7 separate regions of the Homo sapiens genome follow, and regions 1, 2, 3, 4, 5 and 6 are each linked to region 7. Evidence: promoter capture Hi-C in human tissues and cell types (Jung and others, 2019). All regions are on one chromosome and are shown on one strand. The core of a region is centred on a gene start or on the middle of the fragment in contact, and the rest is flanking DNA. Distances in the headings are between cores, read along the strand shown.

Region 1 (2,700 bases), core at 127-2,626, 420 kb after region 7:
CCTGGGCCTGGGGCACCTGCCCCAGCTTGGTGAGAGGGTATCATTTGTCCTTGGGAAGCTCAGAGAGATGAGGTGAAATGGCCAAGCTTTCTAAGAATGTGTCTTTAGTGAACATTTGACCCAAGGTCAAGGCTCTGCTAAGGTCATTGTCCTTATCCCCAGCAATCCCACAGGATGGGCATCTTTAAGCCACTTTATAGGGGAGAACCCTTGGGATGGGAATGAGAGACACAGCAGCCTCTGAGCTAGCCTGGGAGGATCCAGGGAGTGAACCGGGGGAGGGTTGGGGCCCTGTCATCAGATGCCCTGGGGGCTCAGACGGAGGCAGGCCAGGTCTCTGCCCTGTTACGTCTAGAAGGAGAACAGAATGTGGGCTCCAGGTCCAGATGGCCTGGCTCCAAGCCACACTTGCCATACCTCAGTCTTGAGATCTGTGAAAAGGGCACACCCCTGAGGCAGGTGGAAATTATTGGATACCCAGGGGGAGGCTGCAAGGGTTTATCTGGCCAGCTGGAGATCCCGCCTGGACACCGTCCTCCTGGGGTGCTGGAGAGACACACAGGCGAGGCCACCCCTCCCCTGCCCCTTGGGTGCTGGGTGAAGAGAGCAAATTCTGGAGCCTCCCGTGTTAGCCTGGGCCCTTCTGGCCAAGGAAGGGACAGCTGCACACAAGCCCCTCTAGCTGGGGACCCGCAGCCCCTGCCTGGCTCTGGGGGGAGAAGGGAGCCAGGGTGCTGTGGGACCAGCTCACCGTGCACCCAGGGTCGTACATCTTTAAGGGGAAAGAGGCGCGCTGGCCGGCCTCTGCGCACGTCACTTCTTCATTCCTTCCCTCCCCCCTGGCTCTTTCCTCCAACTTCCCGGCCAGCTCGGGGGTGATGGGGGGGTGGGGAGGGGGGGCCTTAAAAATCCACCCCTGGCCCCTCAATGTCCAGAAACAACCCTGTCCCCCCTCTCCGCTTGATCCGAATTGGGGTCGCCCTGCAGTCCTGGGGTCCTGGTCTAGTGCCCTGGGGCATTGCGTAAATACGGGAGGAGCGGGGGGGTCCTGAGACGTCGGGGGAGGCTCTCCTTTCTCGCTCGCGCCCTTTTTTCCCTCGTTTCTTTGAAAGTTGGGTGTTGAGAAGTGGGAGGTTCGGGGTGGGAGGGGGAGGGTGTCAGAGGGTAGAGAGAGAGACAGAGAGACAGAGACGGGGGAGAGAGGAAGAGAGAGACGGAGGGAGAGAGGGACAGAGAGCGAGGCGGGCGGCGCGAGAGAGGGAGAGCAGGAGGGAGGAGGAGGGAGACCGAGGGAGGAGGCGGCGAGGAGAGCGCGCCGGCCGCGGGGCGGGGGGGGGGGTTGGGGGGGGCGGGGGGGTGGTTTGGAAAAATGACTCAGTAAGTTCAGCGCGCCCGCTCCGGCCGGCCCTGCGCCTCCCGCCGCGCCCGGGATGTATTCGTCCCCGCTCTGCCTCACCCAGGTACGGTCCTCGCCCGGCCCCCCGCCGGCGCCCCCGCGCCCCCCGCATCCCAGCCCCGGAGTTTTGAAGCAGGAGGAGGCGGGACGAAAAAGGCGCGCGTCCCTCCCGCCATCCCTGCCCGGGATGCCCCCCGCGCCGAGGGCTGGGGTCCGGTGGGGGGATGGGTCAGGCTGGGGTACCCCCCCCACACCCTTACCTACCGCGGACCCCCTACGCGGGACTCCCGCCCAGCACCCCCAACCCCGACTCTCGGGACCTCTCCCGGATGTGGGGCTTGGTCTGCAGATTTGCGTCCCCCCCCCACACACCGACGCACTCCGCACCCCCGCCCCGACACTCGGAAAGGTCGGGGTGGGGGCTGGCCCCCCTCCAGCAAGGGCTCTGCGGGAAGCCCCCCGCCTGCCTCTGAGAGGAATCTAGGGGGTCGTGATTGGACCCTGGGTCTCCCCAGCTGGAGAGAAAGGGACCTCTCATGTGTTTTCCCCGTGTCCCCCCACCAAGGTTGTGCGGGCCGCCCTGGCCCTCGGTCGCCTTTCCCTCGTTATTGGCCCACGTGTGCATGGAGGGGGAGGGGGCAGGAGAAGTTGGAGGCCCAGGAGGGGGAAGGGTGCTCCGGCGGCCCGGCTGGGTCCCCCCTCCTTTGCAAGCCCCCCAGCACCGTCCCGGTATTTTCGCTGCATCGATTCTGGATTCTGGATTCTGGATTCTGGAGCCGCCGCCGGGAGGAGCGGGAGGCCCGGCGCTCCGGGTCTGGCCCGGGCACTGCGGCGCTGCGGACGCCCTCGCCAGCCCGGCACCTGCCCCGTCCCCTCCCCCTCCCCCTCCCCCTCCCGTAGCCTCTCACCCCTGGCCGCACTCCCAGACTGCCCCGGGGCCGAGCCTTGTGCAATGGCCGAGGGGGTGTGTGGGGAGGGGGCGGCTCCCCCCGGGGACTCCTTCCAGCCCAGGCTCCCGGGGACCCCGAGGTCTGCAAGTTCCGTTTTCTAGACCGCTGCTTTCCTCCTTACGCAGTGTGTCTTTAGGCTGGAGAGGTTCTGGCCTCAGTTTCCCCTGAAGTGAGGTGCGGCTAAGGCCGGTTCTGGAGAGGGGACAGTATGGCGGGCAAACTGTAAAGTCCCGGCACGTGGGGGGTGCGATTCCAGCGAGGGCCAGGCCCGTCTTAAGAAGCACTGTGTGGGGAGTATATGAGTCCCCGGCTTCCGCTCCAGGGCATGGTGCAGTGAGGGACCCCCCACGCCAG
Region 2 (2,700 bases), core at 38-2,537, 300 kb after region 7:
ACACCTTCCATGGCTCCCCACTGCCCTTGACATCAGTCCAGCAGTTCTTTGCCTGTTTCACCCTCATCTGTCCCCTCCAATGGCATCCCCCATCTCCTGCAACACACTTTTTTTTTTTTTTTTGAGGCAAGAGTTTTGCTCTGTTGCTCAGGCTGGAGCGCAGTGGCGAGATCTCGGCTCACTGCAAACTTTACCTCCCAAGTTCAAGTGATTCTCCTGCCTCAGCCTCCTGAGTAGCTGAGTAGCTGGAATTATAGGTGCACGCCACCACACCTAGCCAATTTTTGTATTTTTAGTAGAGACGGGGTTTCATCATGTTGGCCAGACTGGTCTTGAACTCCTTACCTCAAATGATCCGCCTGCCTCTGCCTCCCAAAGTGCTGGTATTACAGGCATGAGCCACTGCACCTGGCCCTTCTTTTTCTTTCTTTCTTTTTTTTTGAGATGGGGTCTCACTCTGTCATCCAGGCTGGAATGCAGTGGCATAATCTCAACTCACTGCAACCTCTGCCTCCCGGGTTCAAGAGTCATTCTTGTGCCTCAGCCTCCTACGTAGCTGGGACTACAAGCATGAACCACCACACCCAGCTAGTTTTTGTATTTTTAGTAGAGAGGGGGTTTCACCGTGTTGGCCAGGCTGGTCTTGAACTCCTGACCTTAGGTGAGCCACCTGCCTCGGCCTCCCAGAGTGCTGGGATTACAGACGTGAGCCACTGCGCCCGGCCCTACCACACACTTCTGAAAGCCTATGTTCCACACACCAGGCAGGCTCTTGTTCTATGGCCCCAGCTCCAAGAATCATCCTTCAGGAAGCCGTCTCCAAGCAGAACCAGGTTGCCTTCAGAGCGTCCCCAGCCCTGCCTTTCTCTTGGCCCGGGCTGACCACACAGGGTGTGGAGGGGACAGGAGTGTCAGGCTCTGCCTCCTCCTAGCAGGAGGATCACAGAGAATCACTTCCCAAAAAAGAGCATTTTCCTGGGCTGGAGACTGGAGTGTCCTTTTGGGCTGAGGTCCCCAGCTGCCCGGGCTGGAGAAACTTATCCATTGAGCAGATCTCATGTTCCCCAAGGATCCCCCACCTTGATCCCCAATGTACCCTTGGTACCCTTGGGTCTCGAGAGATTTGTGTGCAGTGCATTGTCTATGAACTTGAAGATCAGTTCTTTTTTTTTTTTTTTGAGGCGGAGTCTTGCTCTGTCACCAGGCTGGAGCGCAGTGGCACCATCTTGGCTCACTGCACCCACCAACTCCCTGGTTCAAGCAGTTCTTCTGCCTCAGGCTCCCAAGTAGCTGGGATTACAGGCACGAACCACCACGCACAAGCCACCGCGCCCAGCTAATTTTTTTTTTTTGTATTTTTACTAGAGATGGGGTTTCACCATGTTGGCCAGCATAGTCTCTATCTCCTGACCTTGTGATCCACCCGCCTCTGCCTCCCAAAGTGCTGGGATTACAGGTGTGAGCCACCGCGCCCGGCCTAAAGATCAGTTCTTGTCCAGGCTTTGAAAATAGGGTGGGTGCAGATTGCCAATCACTGAGCATTCTGAACCATTGATCCCAGGTGGGACTTCCCTGTCTACCCCCTCCAGAACCCCAAGGCTCTCCAGGTGTGCAGCAAGGCTGCACACCTGCCTCTGGTGCCCTTGCCATCTGGGGCAGGTGTGTGGGGTGGGAGTGGCTGGGGCTGGGACACGGTGAGAGGCTCACCTGGCGTGGGTGGGGGATAAGCTGTGGCTCAGGCTGAGGCTTCCTTCAGGGGATCCCTCTGGGTCTAGGATGCAACCAACCAGAGCTCTCACAGTTGAAATGGGATCCACAGGGCCCTCAGCATTTGATCCAGCCCCGTGTTTCTGACAAAGGTGGCACTAGTTTGTTGTTGTTGTGTGTTTGTTTGAGACAGAGTCTCCCTCTTGCCCAGGCTGGAGTGCAGTGGCGCGACCTCGGCTCACTGCAACCTTATCTCCCGGGTTCGAGCAATTCTCCTGCCTCAACCTCCCGTGTAGCTGGGACCAGAGGCGCGCGCCGCCACGCCCAGCTAATTTTTGTGTTTTTAGTAGAGATGGGGTTTCACCGTGTTGGGCAGGCTGGTCTCAAACTCCTGACCTCAGGTTATCCACCTGCCTTGGCCTCGCAAAATGCTAGGATTACAGGCATGAACCACCATGCCCGGCCCAAGGTGGCACTATTTTAAGGTTATTTCTAGGGAAGCAGGTACGGCAAGAGGCTGTGTTCTTCCTCATATTCCTTGGGGGAGAATTTTGGAAAAGATGCGAAAGCCAGGCAGTGGATCTCAGCTGTTAGTGCATGGTCTGCAGAGCTAGACTACCTAGATTTAAGCCCTCGACATTTGGCCGGGCACGATGGCTCGCACCTGTAATCCCAGTGCTTTGGGAGGCTGAGGCGGGCAGATTACTTGAGGTCAGGAGTTCAAGACTAGCCCGGCCAACATGGTGAGACCCCGTCTCTACTAAAAAATACAAAAAATTGGCTGGGTGCAGTGACTCATGCCTGTAATCCCAGTACTTTGGGAGGCTGAGGTGGGCGGATCACTTGAGGTCAGCAGTTCAAGACCAGCCTGGCCAACATGGTGAAACCCTGTCTCTACTAAAAATACAAAAAAATGGCCGGGCGCAGTGACTCACACCTGCAATCCCAGCACTTTGGGAGGCTGAGGTGGGTGGATCATAAGGTCGGGAGTTC
Region 3 (2,700 bases), core at 187-2,686, 330 kb before region 7:
GAAGAGAGTTCCCCCAGCTACAGCCTGAGCATGGTCGCCAGAAAGCAGGTGCGGCGACTTTCCCTAGCACCCTCTCCCTGCCCTCTGTGTACCCGCAGGGGGGCCCTGCACGTCGGGTCTCAGGCACATGTGTGGTGAAATGCACACAACAAAAAAGCTCCCTTTCCAGACATCCAGTGGCATTCGTGCAGCCATCATCTCTAGCTAGCTCTAGAACATTCTCAGCCCCCCAAAAAGACACCCCATCCCTATCAGCTGTCACTTCCCATCCCCCTCCCCAGCCCCTGGCACCCACACATCCCCTTCCTGCCTCTCTAGACTGGCCTGTCCTGGACATTTCATAGAAATAGGATGACACACTGTGTGGCCTTTTGGATCTGGCATCTCTCACTGAGTGTGACATCCTCAAGGGGCATCCAGGCTGCACGTGGCCTGGGTCAGAGTCTCGTTCACGGCTGAGTCTCGTTCCAGTGTGTGGAGGGCCACGCTGTTTATCTATTTACCCACGGACGGACACTTGGGTCATTTCCACCTTTTAGCCATTGTGAATCGTACTGTATGAACATTTGTGGCAAGGTTCTATTTGAACACCTGCTTCCAATTCCTCTGGGCAGATAACTAGGAGCGGAATTGCTGGGTCATGTGGCGACTCCGCGTTCAGCCTTTTGAGGAACCACCAGACTGGTTTCCAAGGCGGCTGCCCCATCTTGCATCACACATCAATTCTCAATGCCAAGGCGTTCCTCAGCTTTTAAACAAGGCACTGAGGCAGGAGGCAGGCAGCTGATTGTTGAAGGTCACCCCGTAGCCATTGGCAGAGCCAGAACTTGCAGCTGTGATTTGTGCCGCGGCTCCTGCCCAAGCCCTCCTTCCCTGGCTTCAGTGCTGGGCTGGGCAAGGTGTGTGGAATAGCCCCGCTTTCTAGGCCACTTTCGGGGTACTGGGCGGCCACTGTCTGGTCTGAAGGTGCCATCTGTGACACTCTTTTTTTTTTTTTTGAGACGGAGTCTCGCTCTGTCGCCCAGGCTGGAGTGCAGTGGCGCGATCTCGGCTCACTGCAAACTCCACCTCCCAGGTTCCCACCATTCAGGCTCCCCCAGACCTCCGCCTCCAGGGAGCCCTCCAGAATGTCCTTCCTCCTGCCTTCAATGCTCCTCCCCATCCTGCAGGGGTCGGCAAGGATGTCCTCTCCTTAGAGACCTTCCTGGACACCACGTGGCACAGACTCTGTCCTCTTGGTGCCACCTCATCCTATTTTCTTTGTCTTTTCCGGTTTTTTTTTTTTTTTTTTTTTTTTTTGAGATAGGGTCTTGCTCTGTTGCCCAGGCTGGAGTGCAGTGGTGCAGTCACAGCTCACTGCAACCTCAGCCTCCTGGGCTCAAGTGATCCTCCTGCCTCAGCCTCCAGAGTAGCTGGAACTACAGGCACCCACCACCACGCCTGGCTAATTTTTTTGTATTTTTAGTAGACATGGGGTTTCACCATGTTAGCCAGGATGGTCTCGATGTCCTGACCTCATGATCTGCCCGCCTCGGCCTCCCAAAGTGCTGGGATTACAGGCATGAGCCACCACGCCTGGCCCATCTGTGAGATTCTGAAGAGCCACTGCTGAGCAATTAAGCTGCCCTCTGCAGTGGGAAATTTTCTTTGCAAGGAAGCAGCAAGGCGGAGGAGGCAGGAGGGTTCCCTAAGATTGTGCACCCACGGCAGCCAGCAATGTGCCTGACACAGTGAAGGGCCTCGGCAAAGGGGCGCCTCCTGTCCCCTTCAAATCCTTACGGGCCACCCCAGGATCTGGTGACCTGGAACAGACTCCTGTATGGGCCTTTTTCCCCTGGTGCCAGCAGGGAACAGGGCAGGATGGAAAAAACACCCAGTAGCCAGTGGCCCACTGATGTCACCAAGCTGCAGGGCTGCCCAGCATTGATTAAACACAGCTGGTGTGGGCCAGGCATGGCACCTCACACCTGTGATCCCAGTGCTTTGGGAGGCTGAGGCGAGAGGATCCCTTGAGCTCAGGAGTTCAAAACCAGCCTGGGCAAAATAGTGAGACCCCATCTCTAATTTATTATTATTATTTTGAGCCGGAGTCTCGCTCTGCTGCCCAGGCTGGAGTGCAATGGCACGATCTCGACTCATTGCAACCTCTGCCTCCCGTGTTCCAGCGATTCTCCTGCCTCAGCCTCCCGAGTAGCTGGGATTACAGGCGTGTGCCACCGTGCCCAGCTAATTTTTGTATTTTTAGTAGAGATGAGGTTTTGTCATGTTAGCCAGGCTAGAGACTCCATCTCTATTAAAAAACAAACAAAGAAAGGCTGGGTGTGGTGGCTCATGCCTATAATCCCAGCACTTTGGGAGGCCAAAGCGAGCGGATCACCTCAGGTCAGGAGTTTGAGACCAGCCTGACCAACAGGGAGAAACCCCGTCTCTCCTAAAAATACAAAATTAGCCGGGCATGGTGGCGGGTGCCTGTAATCCCAGCTACTCAGGAGGCTGAGGCAGAATTGCTTGAACCCGGGAGGCAGAGGTTGCAGGTTGCAGTGAGCCGAGATCACGCCATCGCACTCCAGCCTGAGCAAAACCCCATCTCAAAAAAAAAAACCAGACAAATATAGCTGGTGGGTTCTTGGGCAAGGCTGGTGACCAGGGCCCTAGGGGAGGATGTTTCCAAGAGCTGCCAAGAGCAGTGGGGCCCGGGTT
Region 4 (2,700 bases), core at 34-2,533, 360 kb after region 7:
TAAAAAAAAAAAAAAAAAAAAAAAAAAAAAGTAGGAATTACCTAGGTCCGAGTTAGAAAACAGAGAGCCCCTCAACTGTGGCCTCGAAACCACACAGAGGACTGAAGCAGGATGTGTGGGGGTAAAACTGAGGGCCAAATAGGAGCTGAGTCCCGACCAAGGGAGCTGGAGTTCCTCACCTCTGGGTCCTCAATATTTGCTGATTGACTTAAGACATGCATGCCCTTAAGCCTTGCATTCTCTCTCCAAGCTTCAGTTTCCTCATCTGTAAGACGGGGCTCATGAGATATATATATATATATGTGTGTGTGTGTGTGTGTGTGTATATATATATATACACATACATATGTGTGTATATACATATAATGTATATGTGTGTATATATGTATATATACGTGTGTATGTGTGTGTGTGTGTGTATACACATAATTTTTGGTTGGTTGTTTGAGACGGAGTCTCACTCTGTCACCCAGGCTGGAGTGCAGTGGCGCGATCTCAGTTCACTGCAACCTCCGCCTCCCAGGTTCAAGAGATTCTGCTGCCTCAGCCTCCCGAGTAGCTGGGATTACAGGTGCGCGCCACCACACCCGGCTAATTTTTGTATTTTTAATAGAGACAGGGTTTCACCATATTGGTCAGGCTGGTCTCGAATCCCTGACCTCTTGATCCGCCCGCCTCGGCCTTCCTGATCCAACCGCCTCGGCCTCCCAAAGTGCTGGGATTACAGGCGTGAGCCACCACGCCCGGCCTGGGCTCAGGTTATTATGCAAACATCCAGAACTGGGCAGATCAAGATGAATGATACCAATGATACTATCACATTATAGGCAAAATAGGACCTTCTCCCCGGTCAGAAAAGTGAACTCTCAGGCATCACTCCTACTGGAATCCAGAGTCAATAAACATTTATGAAGCACCTACTGGGTACTAGGAGCTGTTGTAGAAAGGTACTGGGGAGAAGGCAGGGAACGAAATGTACAAAAATTCTGACCACGTCCATAGTCCCTGGCCCCGCCCCACTACTTGCCCCAACCCTCACAGGAACAGTTTCCAGCCCCGCCCCCAGCCCCGCCTCCTCTCCACCCCCTCACTTTTCTGAACCTACCAGAGCGAGGTGAAGGGTGAGAGTAATCTACATATTCATGAGGGATCAGCCAATCCACAGCCTGAACTCGGATTTGTCTTCAGAGCCTAGCTGATTGTGACGTCAAGAGTGATGCATTACGTAGCCGGGCGCCGTGGCTCATGCCTGTAATCCCAGCACTTTGGGAAGCCGCGGAGGGCAGATCACCCGAGGTCAGGAGTTCAAGATCAGCCTGGCCAATATGGTGAAACCCCGTCTCTACTAAAAATACAAAAATTAGCCGGGTGTGGTGGCGAGTGCCTGTAATCCCAACTACTCAGGAGGCTGAGGCAGGAGGATCGCTTGAATCCAGAAGGCGGAGGTGGCAGTGAGTGGAGATCGTGCCACTGCACTCCAGCCTGGGCCACAGAGCCAGACTCCGTCTCAAAAAAAATAATAATAATAATAAAGTGATGCATTGCGTGATTTTTAAAGGTGCAGCAACCTCTCATGGTCTCAGTTTGCATATCCGTAAAGTACAGGTTGGGGCGTGCGGGACATAGAAACCAGCGCAGTACGATGACGCTGAAATCGCTTTGCCACCTTGGGTGAAATTCAGGGATACGTTTTGAGCGTTCACTACATGTCAGACACTTTACTCCAGCGGGGGCTCCGGAGTTCCTGCTTAGAATGGGAGCTTCAGCACCGGGGGTCGCGGACAGCTCCCGGCTCTGGTCGCAGGGGCTCCCATGCAGGATGACTGGGGACAAGGGTCTGAGCTTTCTCTGCCTGTCTGTCCTCCATCAAAGCCTCAAATGAACTCAGCCCTAATCTCTGACAGCTAAGGGGTTGCTAGTCAGGACAACACTCTGTCCTTGGTCCCCAATCCTGCTCCTCCCTCGTCGTCTGCATCTCAGCTGATGGCAGTTCCATTCTTTTTTTTTTTTTTTTTGAGACGGAGTCTCGCTCTGTCGCCCAGGCTAGAGTGCAGTGGCGCGATCTCGGCTCACTGCAAGCTCCGCCTCCCGGGTTCACACCATTCTCCTGCCTCAGCCTCCCGAGTAGCTGGGACTACAGGTGCCTGCCACCACGCCTGGCTAATTTTTTGTATTTTTAGTAGAGACGGGGTTTCACCGTGTTAGCCAGGATGGTCTCGATCTCCTGACCTCGTGATCCGCCTGCCTCGGCCGCCCAAAGTGCTGGGATTATAGGCGTGAGCCACCGCGCCCGGCCCGGCAGTTCCATTCTTCCGGGTGCTGGAGCCGAATATCAACGCTATCCTGGATCTTTTGTTTCTTGCTCAACTCCAATCTATCAGCAGGTCCTGTCGCCCCTGCCCTCACTATTCCATCCTCAAACGCTCACTTCTTCCTGTTCCTCTGCCTGGGTCCAGCCCCATCGTTGCCCACCTGGACCTGGCGCAGTTGCCTCTGCCTTGGTCCTAGGCTCCACCCTCTGCCACACAGTCTGTCCTCCCTGCAGCAGCCACCAGAGGGGGGCTGTGAGCACCCGAGTTAGGGCCTGTCCCTCCTCTGCCTACAGCACTCCAAGGCTCCCACCTTCCTCTGGGTCAAAGCCTCCCTGTGACCTATAAGGCTGGCAAGACCTTCCCTGTGTTAGCCAGGATGGTCTCGATC
Region 5 (2,700 bases), core at 177-2,676, 490 kb before region 7:
GTAACCCCCATGGCCCCAAAATGCACCTCTCACGGAAGGGTCCCCAGAGCTAGCTGGAGGCCCCTCTGCAGCCCTCACTCAGGACACGGAAGATCTCCTGGGACCCCCTCCATAGGTGGGGCATTCCTGGTCTGCACTTTTCACTCAGTGCCCTAGAAACCCCCTGGAGGTCCCCAAGAGAATGGGCCACTCCGGTCTGCACCCCTCCCAAGGGGTCCCCCAAGATCTCGGAAACTGCGGTGGGCAGGGCCTGCCCAGGTGGCACCCCTCACTCAGGGTCTCCCCCTGGAGATCCCCGAGGCCAGGCTGACCCCACCCCTGCTCAGGGTCCCCCGTGATCGCGTACTCCGCGGTGGGCTGGGCCTGGCCGAGCTGCACCCCTCACTCAGGGACCCCTTGAAACCCCCTGGAGACCCCCAAGCCGGGACCCTTCCCGGTCTGCACCCCTGCCCAGGGTCCCCGCGATCGCGCACCCCGCGGTGGCCAGGACCTGCACCCTTCATCCAGGAGCCCCCCGCAAACCCCCTGGAGACCCCAAGCCGGGAGTCGTTCAGAGTCCCCCGCGATCGCGCGCCCCGTGGTGGGCGGGGCCTGGCCGAGTAGCACCTTTCACTCAGGGACTCTCCGAAACGCGGCGGAGATCCCCGAGGCCGGACTGTCCCCGTCTGCATCCCAGCTCAGGGTTCCCCGCGACTGGGAGCCCCGCAGTGGGCTGGGCCTAGCCGAGCAGCACCCCTCACTCAGAAGCCCCCAAACCTCCTGGAGACCCCCGAGCCGGAGCCTGTCCCCGTCTGCACCCCCGCCCAGGGTCCCCGCGATCACGCACCCCGCGGTGGGCGGGGCCTGGCCGAACTGCACCGCTCACTCAGGGGCCCCTCGAAACCCCCTGGAGACCCTCGAGACCCGGGCCCGTCCCTGTCTGCACCCAGGGTCCCAGCGATTGCCCACCCCGCGGTGGGAGGGACCTGGCCGAGCTGCACCCCTCACTCAGGGGCCCCCCGAAACCCCGCGGAAACCCCCGAAGCCGGGGCCCGTCCCCGTCTGCACCCCCGCCCAGGGTCCCCGCGATCGCGCGCCCCGCGGTGGGCGGGGCCTGCCGGCTGCACCCCCGCCCGGCCCCTAAGCCCCGGCGCCCACCTCGCGCGTGGTCACCTCCTCCTTCTCTGAGATCTTGAGCAGGAGCCGGTCGTTCTCCAGCTCCAGCGCGCGGACGCGGTCGATGTAGTGCGCCAGGCGGTCGTTGAGCTCGCGCAGCTCCTCCTTCTCCTGCAGCCGCGACAGGCGCGTGGGCGACAGCGGCGTGGCGGGCCCGCCCGCGCGGCCGGGCAGCGGCGTGGCCATGGTGGCGGCGGCTCGCGGCCTGCGCTGCTCCCGACGGCGGCCCGGGCTCGGCGGGCTCATTCAATCCGCGCCGCCGGCTGCAAGATGGCGCCGCGCCGCGCCGCGCCCGCCGCCCGCCGCGGCGGGGCAGCCTGGGACTGGTAGTCCGACCGCCGGGCGCGCGCGGGGCACGCCGGAAGTTGAAGTCTCCGTCCAGCTCTCGCTTCGCAGAGGCGCTGACTCCAGAGACAGACTTCCTGGCTGCAAACTCCCAGCTCCGCCACGAGGAAACAGCGTTGGGTTGCTTTCTAGTACCTGTTTCCCCACTTAGAGAACCTCAAAACGTGTTCAAAGAACCAGACACAAAAGGCCATATAGGGCCGGGCGTGGTGGCTCACGCCTGTAATCCCAGCACTTTGGGAGGCCAAGGCCGGTGGATCACTTGAGAAAAGAATTTCGAGATCAGCCTGGACCACATAGGGAGACCCCCCCACACCATCTCTACTACGGAGGCGCGCGCCGGTAATCCCAGCTACTTGGGAGGCTGAGGCAGGAGAATCTCTTGAACTTGGGACGTGGAGGTTGCAGTAAGCCAAGATCGCGGCACTGCACTCCAGCCTGGGCAACAATGAGAAACTTTGTCTCAAAAAAAAAAAAAAAAAAAAAAAAAAGCCATATAGTGTACAATGCCACTGATATAAAATGTCCAGAAGAGGCTGTCAAGGAGTATGAATTTCAACAAATTGAGTTTAATGATCTCATTGGCTCTTATTAGCAATTCATGAATTGGATAGCATTCAATCTATTAAATAGGCACTCCAATGAGCTGAGCAGAGAGGATGGGCATTCTGCATTACAGGCAGAAAAGGCTGAAGAAAGGAGAAATAAGAATTAAAATAAAAGCCAGGCCAGGTACAGTGGTTTGCTCACGCCTGTAATGCCAGCACTTTGGGAGGCGGAGGTGGGAGGATAGCCTGAGCCCAGGAGTTTGAGACTGGCCTGGGCAACATAGCAAGACCCCATTTCTAAAAATAAAAATAAAAAAATTAGCCAGGTGCAGTGGCTCACACCTGTATTCCCAGCACTTTAGGAGGCCAAGCCGGGCAGATCATGAGGTCAGGAGTTCGAGACCAGCCTGACCAATATGGTGAAATCCCGTCTCTACTAAAAATACAAAAATTAGCCAGGCATGGTGGCACATGCCTGTAGTCTCAGCTACTCGGGAAGCTGAGGCAGGAGAATTGCTTTAACCCGGGAGGCGGAGGTTGCAGGGAGCCAAGATTGAACCACTGCACTCCAGCCTAGGCAACAGAGTAAGACTCCACCTCAAAAAAAAAAAAAAAAAAAAATTAGCTGGGCGCCTATAGTCCTAGGTATTTG
Region 6 (2,700 bases), core at 2-2,501, 330 kb after region 7:
GTGGGAGGGTGGAGAGATCCGGGGCAGGGAAAGGGCGCGGCTGGGTCCTCCCTCGCACGCGCAGAACCGGAGCCGGCAGGGCCCGGGCGCCGCGTCTTCCTGCCCTGCCGCCTCCACTCTGCTGGAGGGAGGGAGGAATCCCGGAGGCCCTCCCGGAGGCCGGGGACTCGGCTGAGGTGGGTGTCGCCGCCCACAGGGGACCGGAAGCTGTTCGTGGGGATGCTGAACAAGCAGCAGTCGGAGGAGGACGTGCTGCGGCTGTTCCAGCCCTTCGGGGTCATTGACGAGTGCACCGTGCTCCGGGGGCCTGACGGCAGCAGCAAAGGTGACTGGCGGGGGCCGGGGCGGGACTGCGAGAGGGGCCGGGCTAGCTCTGGGGGCGGGGCCTGTGGGGAGGGTGGGGCCTGCAGCATGGGGAGGAGCTGGCTCTGGGGTGGGACCCTGGGGAGGGGCGGGGCTTCTCCAGGGGTGGAGTCTGTGGGTGAGGCTGCAGGGGCGGGGCCTTGGAGAGGGGCGGAATTGCAGGGGCGGGGCCTGGGGAGGGGATGGGGCTGCAGGGTGGGGAGGAGCTGCCTCTGAGGGCGGGGCCTGTGGGGCAGGGCCCTGGGGAGGGGTGGGGCTTCTCCAAAGGTGGGCCCTTGGGGAGAGGTGTGGCTGCAGGGGTGGGGAGGAGCTGGCTCTGAGGATGTAGCCCTGGAGAGGCCCGAGGCTTCTCCAGAGCTGAAGTCTGTGGGTGAGGCTGCAAGGGTGGGGTCTTGGGTAGGGGAGGTACTGCAGGGAGGGGTGAAATACGTAGAGTTAGGAGGGACTGGCTCCAGGGGGAGAGGCCCTGGGAAGGGTCGGGGCTGAGCATATAGGGGGTGGGGCTGGCCAGGTGGGGCGGGGCCAGGCCAATAGGAGGCTGGGGCTGGCTGGGAGAAGCTGGTTCACAGGGGTTGGGTGGAGCAGAGACTGGTCCCGCTTGATCCTACCTGCATGCTCTCTCTGCATGCTGGCTGTGGGGACGGGCCCTGAAGAGGGGCGGGGCTGCGGTGGGGTGGGCGGAGATGCAGAGGCGTGGCCTTGGGGAAGGGCAAGGCTTCTCCAGGGGCTGCTTATGGATGGGGATGCAGGGGCAGTACCTTGGGATGAGGCGGTGTCTGGTGGGAGGCGGGGGGGCTTCTCCAGGTGCTGCCTGTGAGTAGGGATGCAGGGGCGTGGCTTGTGATGGGGCGGGGTCTGGGGAGGGGCGGGGCTTCTCCACGGACAGAGTTACCTGTGCCCTGTGGTCTCAGATTCCTCCACCTGACTATTCGTAAAACTGTTTCCTCCTGGTTCTGTCTATGTGATTTGTCCATATGACTGACTGGTGGTCTCTGGTTGTGTCTGTCTGTCTATCTTCCTGCCTGAGAGTCCAAATGACGGTGTCTGGCGGTCTCTGTCCACAGAGCTCATCATGTGGGACCGACTCCACTCTGGTCTTTCTTACCTTACTAGAACTGAATGTGTCTGACGGTTTCAGACCATTACCTGGTTCTTCCTTTTTAAAATTGAGGGCTGGGCGTGGTGGCTCACGCCTGTAATCCCAGCACTTTGGGAGGCTGAGGCAGGTGGATCACGAGATCAGGAGTTCAAGACCAGCCTGGCCAAGATGGTGAAACCCGTCTCTACAAAAAATACAAAAATTAGCTGGGCGTGGTGGCAGGCGCCTGTAATCCCAACTACTCGGGAGGTTGAGGAAGAGCATTGCTTGAACCCGGGAGGCAGATGTTGCAGTGAGCCGAGATCACGCCACTGCACTCTAGCCTGGGTGACGGAGCAAGACTCTGACTCAAAAAAAGAAAAAAATTGAGATGTCTTCCACATCCTACCAAATTCACCCTTTAAAAATGTACAATGAAGTGCTTTTTTTTTCTATTCATAAAACCGTGCAACCATCACCACTATGTAATTCCAGAACATTCCACCCCCTCCCTCCACAATATGGCTGGCCCTTCCATAGTACTCTACCAGTCTGGAGCCAGGTGCAGTGGCCTCTGTATGTTCTATGGACTTTGTCGGTGGGACTGTGTTTCCATTCACCTGTGTCTGGTGGTCTCTGTGTGTGTGGCTGTCTGTCTGCATTAGCCTGGCTGGCTGTGTGGGTGACCAGGTCTTTGTCTAACTGTGGCTGTCTGTCTGTGTGATTCTCCTCCATTCTGACCCTTGATCTGGCTGATTGTCCAGCTGTCCGTCTGAGCAAACGGCTGGCTGTCTTTCTGTTATCAGTTCTCTCTGGCTGCATGTGTCTGACACTGGCCATGTAGGTCTCTGTGTCCCCTCTCCTGTGGCCCCCGCTCAGCCAGTCCTGTGACCCCATCACCCTCTACCTCTTCTTCTTCTCTTGGAGCAGGCTGTGCTTTCGTGAAGTTCTCCTCCCACACGGAGGCGCAGGCGGCCATCCACGCCTTGCATGGGAGCCAGACCATGCCGGTGAGTTGGAGCTGCCCTTGGCCGTGGGGGTGGGGGTGGGAAAGGGGTGAGGGGGACAGGGATGAAACAGGCCATATTCCTACCGTCGCTGTCATCCGGTAGCCCCTGGCTGTCCTTCAGAGGGGGCACAGGTGGAGAAAGAGGCGCAGTCCCTGGCTGTGGTCCCTGGAGTGGGTATACACGTGTGAGTGTGTGCAGATGTGGAGGTGAGTAGGCAAGCGAAGTGTATGTGTGTGCATGGATGTATTA
Region 7 (2,700 bases), core at 102-2,601:
TTGATTTTGAGACCTGGCAGGTTTCGGAGGCTGGGGCTTATCCCTATTTTTCTCTCTCCTTCTCTAGCCAGGATTTTTTTTTTTTTTTTTTTTTTTGGTTTTTGTTTTTGAGACGGAGTCTTTCTCTGTCGCCAGGCTGGAGTGCAGCGGCGCCATGTCGGCTCACTGCAAGCTCCACCTCCCAGGTTCACGCCATTCTCCTGTCTCAGCCTCCCTGGTAGCTGGGATTGCAGGCGCCCGCCACCACGCCGGGCTAATTTTTGTATTTTTAGTAGAGACGGGATTTCGCCATGTTGTCCAGGCTGGTCTGGAACTCCTGACCTCAGGTGATCCGCCCGCCTCGGCCTCCCAAAGTGCTGGGATTACAGGCGTGAGCCACCGCGCCCGGCCCAGGATTTTATTATTTGACAGGCTCCAGGACAGGGCACCACCTCCTCCTTGGCAGACCTTCCCAAACTGACCACCAAGCCCCTGACGGCTCCTGCCCTCTCCTCCCACTCTCCCCGATCCCCTGACTGCCTCTACTGTCCCCCAACACATCCCTCGAGCCCGACTCCCTTTACTGTCCCCCCAAACTTCCCTCAAGCCCCTGATCGCCTCTACTGCCCCCCTTAAAGTGCCCCTGAGCCCCTGACTGCTTCTGCTGTCCCCTCGAGCTGCCCCCAAACTCCCGACTGCAGCTACTGTCCCCCTAAACTGCCTTCGAGCCCCTGATCACCTGTCCCCCAAAACTGCCCCTTCAAACCCATGACCGCCTCTACGGCCCCCTCAAACTGTCCCCGAGTTCCTGACCGCTGCTATTGGCCCCCTAATCTGCCCTTGAGCCTGACTCCCTTCCACTGAACCCCCAAACTGCCGCCGAGCCCCTGACCGTGTCTGTTCCCGCAAACTGCCCCTGTGCCCCTTAAACCTCTACTGTCCACTTAAATTGCCTCAAGCCCCTGACCACCTCTGCTGTCCCCACAAGCTCTCCCCAAACTCCTGACCTGTACTGTCCCCAGAAACTACCCCTCGAGCCCCTGACCGCTTTTGCTGTCACCCCAGACTGCCCCCAGCCCTACCCCTCGGCCGCTGTGACCACGTCCCCGGGGCCCAGGCGCTCGTCGTGCGCCGCCCCGCGCGTCCCTCAGCTTTCTCCGGCTGCGAACTCGGGCGGAAGCCGGTTCCTGCCGCCCCACCTCGCCCTGGGCCCGGGCTCGGCTCCCGCCCGGCACTCACCATGTCCCGCCCGCTCCTGGGCTCTCCAGGGTTAGCGCCCCGCGGTCCAGCGACCGGCGCAGGTGAGCACGACAGGACACCTGAGCCGCTCGGGGTAGGCGGGGAAGCGCGCAAGGCAGAGGGGAACTCGGCTTACCGTCCTCGGGGTCTGATTGGACAGATCTCGGGAAGTGGAGACTCTGATTGGACAGTGCTGTCGACTCCGCACCCCTGATTGGAGAATTCTCCAGTCCGTCCCCCTAGCGCCCTTGATTGGGCAGGGCTCCGCTTCGGATTAACGTCTCTGATTGGACAGTTCCCTAGGCCCCGCCCCTGCCTGTCCTGATTGGATAATTCTCTCCTCAGTGACGGGCTCGTCGAGAACACGCGTGGCTGACCCTCTAGCCGGGCAGCCGCGGATCTGGGAGAACTCACTCCAGTCCAGGGAGGGCGCGGCGTCCTCCTCCCTGACTGCACGGCAACTCCAGACTCAGTTTCCCCTCGGAGCGGCCCCTCGTGCGGGGAGGAGAGGAAGGGCACGGAGTCCCATGGGGCGGAGTCCTGCGTGGGGGCGGGACCCGCGTGCGTGACGTCACCGTGCTGTCCCGCGTGGGCGCGGACGCCTGGGGTCCAGAGACCTGGAGATCTGGAGACCAGACGACGAGGCCCCAGGAGGCCGGACCCCACCAGGCGCTCCCTGTGTTCTTAAAACTCTCGGCCGGGCGCGGTGGTTCACGCCGGTAATCCCAGCACCGTGAGAGGCGGAGACCGGCGGATCATCAGAGGTCAGGAGTTCAAGTCCAGCCTGACCAAAATGGCGAAAACCACTTCTCTCCTAAAAATACAAAAATTAGCTGGGCACGGTGGCGGGCGCCTGTAATCCCAGCTACTCCGGAGGCTGAGGCAGGAGAATCGCTTGAACCCAGGAGGCGGAGATTGCAGTGAGCCAAGATCAGGACACTGCACTCCAGCCTGGGCAACAAGAGCGAAACTGAGTCTCAAAAAAAAAAAAAGCAGCCCTCCCACAAACAGAACCACGTAAGGTCATGAAGAGAGAGGTCTCACATTTATATGCTTAATAACGAAAAAGACTCTACAAAAACCACAGGCTTAAACAAAAAATACTTTTACAGGGACACTCAGACTGGTGTGACCCTTGTTACTGATCTTTGTAGACAAGGATAATTATTTCTGAAAAATGATGTAATCCTCATTTAAAATTTTTTTTTTCCTTTATAAACCTTTGTCCCAGTCTGGGCAACATGGCAAAACCCCATATATACAAAAAATACAAAAATTAGCTGGGAATAAAGGAGTGTGCGCCTATGGTCCCAACGACTTGATAGGCTGAAGCAGGAGGATCGCTCGAGCCCGTGGGGATTGAGGCTGCAGTGAGCTGTGATCTCACCATTGTACTCCAGCCTGGGCAACAGAGACCCCCGTCTCAAAAAAATGAAAACCAAAAACAACCTTTGTCTTCCTTTACCTCCCTGAATAAGCACA

What was found. The method cuts DNA at HindIII sites, captures the fragments that hold promoters and counts their contacts. A contact is called where the count stands out against the background at its distance.
Region 1: the fragment with the promoter of NFIC here is called in contact with the fragment with the promoter of ZNF77 in region 7 in 3 of the 25 tissues and cell types used here (aorta, dorsolateral prefrontal cortex and lymphoblastoid cells).
Region 2: a contact is called between a fragment that was not itself captured here and the fragment with the promoter of ZNF77 in region 7, in 1 of the 25 tissues and cell types used here (mesenchymal stem cells).
Region 3: a fragment that was not itself captured here is called in contact with the fragment with the promoter of ZNF77 in region 7 in 1 of the 25 tissues and cell types used here (adrenal gland).
Region 4: a fragment that was not itself captured here is called in contact with the fragment with the promoter of ZNF77 in region 7 in 2 of the 25 tissues and cell types used here (H1 embryonic stem cells and dorsolateral prefrontal cortex).
Region 5: a contact is called between the fragment with the promoter of LMNB2 here and the fragment with the promoter of ZNF77 in region 7, in 2 of the 25 tissues and cell types used here (dorsolateral prefrontal cortex and spleen).
Region 6: a fragment that was not itself captured here is called in contact with the fragment with the promoter of ZNF77 in region 7 in 2 of the 25 tissues and cell types used here (dorsolateral prefrontal cortex and lymphoblastoid cells).

What each region holds. Positions count from the first base shown.
Region 1 is chr19:3,365,207-3,367,906 of GRCh38, forward strand. NFIC (nuclear factor I C) reads left to right here and starts at 1,377. Exons shown (of 11, transcript NM_001245002.2): 1 at 1,377-1,460. The coding sequence starts at 1,431. RefSeq lists silencers at 1,006-1,095, 1,546-1,695, 1,986-2,385. The HindIII fragment of the contact is 27,364 bases long and covers 1-2,700 here.
Region 2 is chr19:3,239,903-3,242,602 of GRCh38, forward strand. All of the region lies in intron 1 of CELF5 (CUGBP Elav-like family member 5), which reads left to right. Among named protein-coding and RNA genes, the nearest start is that of CELF5, 17 kb to the left of the region's middle. The HindIII fragment of the contact is 4,011 bases long and covers 1-2,700 here.
Region 3 is chr19:2,614,182-2,616,881 of GRCh38, forward strand. All of the region lies in intron 2 of GNG7 (G protein subunit gamma 7), which reads right to left. Among named protein-coding and RNA genes, the nearest start is that of MIR7850, 15 kb to the right of the region's middle. The HindIII fragment of the contact is 8,165 bases long and covers 1-2,700 here.
Region 4 is chr19:3,305,744-3,308,443 of GRCh38, forward strand. LOC105372244 (a long non-coding RNA gene) reads right to left here and starts at 1,159. Exons shown (of 3, transcript NR_187753.1): 1 at 1,106-1,159. The HindIII fragment of the contact is 7,399 bases long and covers 1-2,700 here.
Region 5 is chr19:2,455,533-2,458,232 of GRCh38, forward strand. LMNB2 (lamin B2) reads right to left here and starts at 1,427. Exons shown (of 12, transcript NM_032737.4): 1 at 1,138-1,427. The coding sequence starts at 1,401. RefSeq lists an enhancer at 1-155 and silencers at 416-595, 826-915, 976-1,225, 1,346-1,525. The HindIII fragment of the contact is 70,551 bases long and covers 1-2,700 here.
Region 6 is chr19:3,275,660-3,278,359 of GRCh38, forward strand. It overlaps CELF5 (CUGBP Elav-like family member 5), which reads left to right. Exons shown (of 13, transcript NM_021938.4): 4 at 197-325; 5 at 2,372-2,451. Among named protein-coding and RNA genes, the nearest start is that of CELF5, 52 kb to the left of the region's middle. RefSeq lists silencers at 1-113, 344-643. The HindIII fragment of the contact is 8,579 bases long and covers 1-2,700 here.
Region 7 is chr19:2,943,620-2,946,319 of GRCh38, forward strand. It overlaps ZNF77 (zinc finger protein 77), which reads right to left and starts at 1,352. Exons shown (of 4, transcript NM_021217.3): 1 at 1,219-1,352. The coding sequence starts at 1,221. RefSeq lists silencers at 1,048-1,127, 1,268-1,517 and an enhancer at 1,588-1,747. The HindIII fragment of the contact is 6,632 bases long and covers 1-2,700 here.